Regions from separate parts of the Homo sapiens genome. Here region 1 is linked to region 2. The links are contacts of gene promoters, found by promoter capture Hi-C in human tissues and cell types (Jung and others, 2019). All regions are on one chromosome and are shown on one strand. Each heading gives the region's core, a stretch centred on a gene start or on the middle of the fragment in contact. The rest is flanking DNA. Distances are from core to core; before and after follow the strand shown.

Region 1 (2,940 bases), core at 391-2,890, 390 kb before region 2:
ATCCAAATTTTCCAATGGCTACCTGAATGGTTCAAATGAGCATTTAACACTGTCACCTTCACACCCTTTTGTTCATGGAATACAAAAATATGACAGTAGTTAAGAATTTTATCTGTTAATTCTGAGGAAAAAATGGCAAAGTGATGACAGGAAAAATATTTTTTTTCCAAAGTATTACTCTAATGCTAAATGTTTTTATGTTTTAAAATCAAGCAAATTTATATGATTGGCTAGACTAAATTCTATCTTTTGGTTTACATATTCTTATATTTATTGTAGAAACTATCTAGGATTGAGTACCTTTAAGCCTTATAAGTAAAGAGGACTTTTAAGCATGGTGAATTTTGTAATGTAAATAATATATTTAAACCATTTTTTGAAGTCTCAGCTATAAAAATTCTACTTAAGAGAAGTTAAAAAAAAAAATCAAGACTTTAATGTGAATAGGTGCCCAGGAAGTGCCTCCAAGTTTAGGCTATGAGGCATCATTAGAAAATAAACGTGAACAGAAGATACAGTTTAAGTGTAAAACACAATATACAACTAAAAATGAATCAGCCCTTTGCCACATGAATTTGTATTAGTTTTCTAGGGGAGAGGTAACACTTGCCAAGACTGTGTAGGCTTTACCTTTTAGTCGCTAATGTAGAATTGTCTTTTAAAGACCTGTTGCCAGAATAAACAAGACGTTTTCAAAATTATCCAACCTGTCTAATAATACTAGTCTTTTGCTTTAAACTGGAATATATATATATACACACACACACACACACACACAATTTAAAATTTATAGCCAGGCATGGTGGTTCATGCCTGTAACCCCAGCACCTTGGGAGGCTGAGGTGGACAGGTCACTTGCGGCCAGGAGTTCGAGACCAGCCTGGCAAACATGGCAAAACCCCGTCTCTACTAAAAATACAAAAAAATTAGCTGGGCATGGTGGCACACGCCTGTATTCCCAGCTACTCGGGAGGCTGAGGCATGAGAATTGCTTGAGTCCAGGAGGCAGAGGTTGCAGTGAGCTGAGATCGCACCACTGCACACCAGCCTAGGCAACAGAGCTGACTCAAAACAAATTAAAGAATGAATGAAAATAAAATAAAATGTATAATTTTTGTTCTCTTTCTCTTTTTTGTTTTTAGTTTTTAAATTTTTATATCTAAAATTTCAGAAATGCAGAGTAAAGTCAAGTAGGAAGAAAATAAAGCAAGCAGCTCAGACACCAACACCACATTAGGTACACTTGTATAAGTAGTCAATTGTTTTTTCAAAAATATACTTTAAATATTGAACAAAAGATTTAATCTTGCTAAGTAATATTTGTTTCAAAGCGGTTTTCTTGGAGAAGTCTTGTTTAGGTTATAGGAAACTCCTCACATGGGCAGAGAAGCTAGCTTTAAGGAGAAAATAATAGTGTGAATGATCTATCTGCAACTTCCCTTTTAAAAACAGAAGTTGAATCTGTAACACCAAATTTAGAAAGGAGAGTGGATGGCAGCAAATACCCTAAGAATATCATCTGTAGCACAGACGCCCACTGCTGTTCTGTTCTGTTACAATTAAATGTACACTTTACAATCCTGAACTTGCTCAGACAATGCATATATTTAAAGATGATTCATTTAAAAGAAAACATACATCTGAAAGAGTCACAACAAGTCAAAAATCTCACTTAAAAAGTGCCAGATTCCCTCACTATGAGTGCAGAGCTATTCATTTGGCCTCTTTACACAGAGTGCAGCACAATCCAGTACTGGGCTACGGAAAAATCATTTTTGTGGGACTAATGTTGATAATTTCAACATAATTTCTGTTTAGCTTCCTTTAAGAAACTAAAGCCCAAATTACAAAAAGGTAGAAAAAATTTTTAATTAATCAGATACTGATTTTCAATCCATTCTGATTTGTTGCCCCTTTAAAACTGTGAGACATCATGCTTTTAGTTTTAATAACAATTAACAGCAATGAGAATAAAGATTCCAGAATTACGATTTTCTCATTACAGCCAAAAATGAAAAGTGAGAAGACAAACACCTTTCCAAAAGTTCATCAGATGAAAAGATAAAAATTAATGGGGAGCCATACCATTTAATGGACAAGAATACTTAATACTATATACATGCAGATTCTCCCCCAAACTTATCAACAAATTACATGAAATTTAAATCCCATATTTTCCTTCAATGGAACTTGGCAAATGAATCCTAAAATTCATCTGAAATAGAAAAGGGCCAAACACAGTTGTAATAAGCTTAAGGAACAAGATGGGGGACATGTCCTATCAGAGCTTATTATAAAGCTCTAGTAATTAGAGCAGAGTAGAGTTGACATAGGTACAGATAAATAGATCAATGGAACAGAATTGAGAGTTCAGAACCACATATATATGGAAGTGTAATACATGACTGAAGTGAAATTACAGATCAGTAAGGAAAGAATTCAATAAGTAGCTCAGGGCCAGGCACGATGGCTCACACCTATAATCGCAGCACTTCAGGAGGCTGAGGCAGAAGGATCGCTTGAACCCTGCCTGGGCAACATGAAGAGACCCTGTCTCTACAAAAATTTTAAAAATTAGCTGAGCAGGCTGGGCACGGTGGCTCATGCCTGTAATCCCACCACTCTGGGAGGCCGAGGCGGGTGGATCACGGGGTAAGGAGTTCGAGACCAGCCTGGCCAACATAGTGAAACCCAATCTCTACTAAACATACAAAAAAAATTAGCCAGGCGTGGTGGCGGGCTCCTGTAATCCCAACTACTTGGGAGGCTGAGGCAGGAGAATCACTTGAACCTGGGAGGCAGAGGTTGCAGTGAGCCGAGATTGCACCACTGCACTCCAGCCCAGGCAACAGAGAGAGACTCCATCTCAAAAAGAAACAAAACAAAACAAAACAAAAAACCAACATTTAGCAGAGCATAGTGGTTCCAGATTCTCAGGAG
Region 2 (2,855 bases), core at 161-2,660:
ACAAATGCCTTCAGGTAGGCAGCAAATGTGTGAAGGCTGGCTGTTACTTAATGGACCAGTGGTGGTGGTGGGATTCAAATTCTTATTAAAAAACAAAAGCAAACAAACAAAGAAAAGCTATGCGATGCCCAAATAAAACCATCTGTGGGCTAGCTGCTGCTGTTGTCCAAAGTTTGTGGCCCCTGGGTTAGACAAAACCTCTGAGCTGTCCTGACAGGTCTGGGAAAACCAAACAAGTCCTTGTCTCCTAAACTACCTGGGACTCAAGAGCTCTGTAGGAAAAAATTTGTACCCTGCACCCAGCTGGGGTTGACATTTACAGACGCCTGTTTTATGAACTGGGGAGATATTCAGTTGAAGCCAGATTGCTGAAAGTGCTGCTGAGAGAAAATCATCAGAAGGGAGGGCCTCTTCCCCACGCCACCCTGGTGGTAGTTCCTCTATGCCTCCGGATTCTGCTAAGCAGTAAAAGCTAAAGGGCAGTGTCATTAAGCTCCTAGGGGATGGGATGCAGTGGCTCACACCTGTAATTCCAGCACTTTGGGAGGCCGAGGCGGGAGGATCGTCTGAGTCCAGGAGTTCAAGCCCAGCCTGGGCAACACAGCAAGACCCCATCTTTGCAAAATAGATAGATAGATAGAGATGTATGAAAGTTACTAGGTCCCATGCTGGCAGGGGAGAGAGTGAGCACCCTGGCCTCCCACAAGCTGCCTCCCACTTCCCTCCGACTCCATCACCGATTTCCCATCAGAGCAGGCTGCTCAGAGTGGCTAAGTAGCTACCAGTTCATTTTCCACACCCTTCCCATTCTCCACGAGCCAGAGCTCCACCTCCCCCCAGAAGCTGTCTTCAACCACCCGGCCTGGGGAGCTCCCCTCAGCACTGGCTCCCCGCCCCGCCTCGCAGCACCTGTTCGGGCCTCGGTCGCGCCGCCGGGTCTTGCAGACGCGAATGTAAACAGAAACACAGTGAAAGGCGTTCGGAGAGCCTCGTGACTGCGGCACGGCGGCGAGCCGGGAACATCAGTGCGTCCAGAGCAAAATGAACGAATGTACGCATGACTCCTGGAGCGACCTTCACGAGGGAAAGCGCGCCCCCCGGCACCCACCCCTAAGCGCCCCAAAATGACCAGCCTTTACACAACCCAGCTCGCAGGCGAAGCTGAGGTCGGAGCTCCAAAAGCGAGGGAGGACAGCCGCTGAAGAAGTCCCGGCTTCCCATAGGCCAGGACGAAGTAGGGGGCGGGCTCATCTTGCAGGAGCGTCCACGTATTGGTGGAGCCGCGGACTTAGAGCTGCGATTCGCTGCGCGAAATTGCCGAAAGCCCTCCCGCGGAGGGAGAAGGGGCGGGAAGAAGGGCGTGGTCAGCGCGGCCGAAGGGCGTGGTTGGCGCTCGGTCCTGCCCTGCGCGTTTTGGGCTGCGGTTGGAGGGCCGCAGTTGCAGTCAGGGTCCGCCAGCTCGGGGCCAGCGCATGGGGCTGCTGAGACCGCTCCGGACGTGCGAAGCGTTCGCGGTGCGGTAGGTAGGCAGTGTCCCGCGTGCGGGTGCTGGTGTCGGGGGTGCCGCGGCGCTGGGGGCGGTGGCCCGGGCTAGATCCGCGCGCGCGCCCGGCCCCCTCCCCCGCGTCTCTTCGGTGCCTGCGGGGCCCTTGCGGTGCGGGCCGTCTGGCCTCGCGTCCCCGCCGGCAAGGGCACAAAGGCTCCCTGGGGGGCGGGGGCGCCTCGTGCCTTCGCCTCCATCTTGCGAGCGGAACGGCGTGTGCTGTGGCGGCCGAGGGGTCGGGGCCGAGGCGGGCGGCTGGGCTTGGGAATGCCCGGGCGCGGCGAGGGAGTGCGCGAGTCCGCGCATCTGGCGGCCGAGCAGCTGCGCCGCTGGTCGGCCTGGGCCCCGGGGGAGGTCACTTTCCCTCAGGCCTCTCCCGGGCGTGGGCTGTTTACCCAGCTCCCCAGTCGGGGCTAATGCAGCTCGGGCCTTTCCCCCTGGAAAGATGGAGACCAGTGATGTCTTCTTATCGCCGCGCCCAGATGCGGAGAGAAAAAATCAAGATGTCTCATTTTTTTTGCCTCGGAGGGCTACCCTTTCTAACTGTCATCACTAGAACAGTTCTCAGCAGCCTGGGGACGAATGTCCAAAACCTGTTCCAGGCCCTTGATGATTAGTAGGTTGGGTTTAGTGTATTGTTTGTAACAAAAATGAGCGGAAGCCTGCCAGGGCAGATTGGACCTCACTGGGAATTCATCAGGACCACGAAGGGAGGTAGCGTTTGTAAATAATCTAACAGTTCTCAGATCTAGGGTATGAAGAGTGTTGTGTTAAAGTGTGTAACAAAGGTTGTTGGGTCAGTTTGCCTTGGGTTTAGTTGAAAGATCTAGAAGTCACCACTTTTTACTTTGTTCCCTCCATTCCCCTTTCCCACCCTCTGTTGAGTCAATTCTGGCCCACTTAGAAAACAACAACAACAAAAAACCCAAGGAATTCAGTTTAACCTCTTTTGCGCAAAGCTTTTTAAAGCACTTCCCCACCCTGCGACTGATAACTCCTCCCTTTTTTGGGCTACCTTCTGCAGCCTCTGTTTTTACTCATCACACTGTATTGTGGTTTCCCCAGCCCCTAGCACAATGCTTGGAACATAAAAGGCACTCAATGATGGAAGGAAGCCAAAAGGAAACAAAATCAGCGTGGTAGTCTAAAGGTGACACAACAGAAACATTTATTTAACTTCTTGAGCGAGTTATTCTTACAGGTTAGGAAGGCAGCTAAGCTCAGGCTCTCTAAGTCAAACAGGCTTTAGCTCTGCCATGTTACTAACTCTGATTAATTTTTTTTTTAATGGTGATGGGGGTCTTGCCATGTT

Evidence for each region. Contacts are between HindIII fragments. The study calls those that stand out against the background at their distance.
Region 1: a fragment that was not itself captured here is called in contact with the fragment with the promoter of CEP68 in region 2 in 1 of the 25 tissues and cell types used here (lymphoblastoid cells).

What each region holds. Positions count from the first base shown.
Region 1 is chr2:64,660,374-64,663,313 of GRCh38, forward strand. No RefSeq gene overlaps it. Among named protein-coding and RNA genes, the nearest start is that of SERTAD2, 7.9 kb to the left of the region's middle. The HindIII fragment of the contact is 3,759 bases long and covers 1-2,940 here.
Region 2 is chr2:65,055,006-65,057,860 of GRCh38, forward strand. CEP68 (centrosomal protein 68) reads left to right here and starts at 1,411. Exons shown (of 7, transcript NM_015147.3): 1 at 1,411-1,523. RefSeq lists an enhancer at 1,004-1,243 and silencers at 1,344-1,453, 1,534-1,873, 2,504-2,553, 2,564-2,643. The HindIII fragment of the contact is 11,141 bases long and covers 1-2,855 here.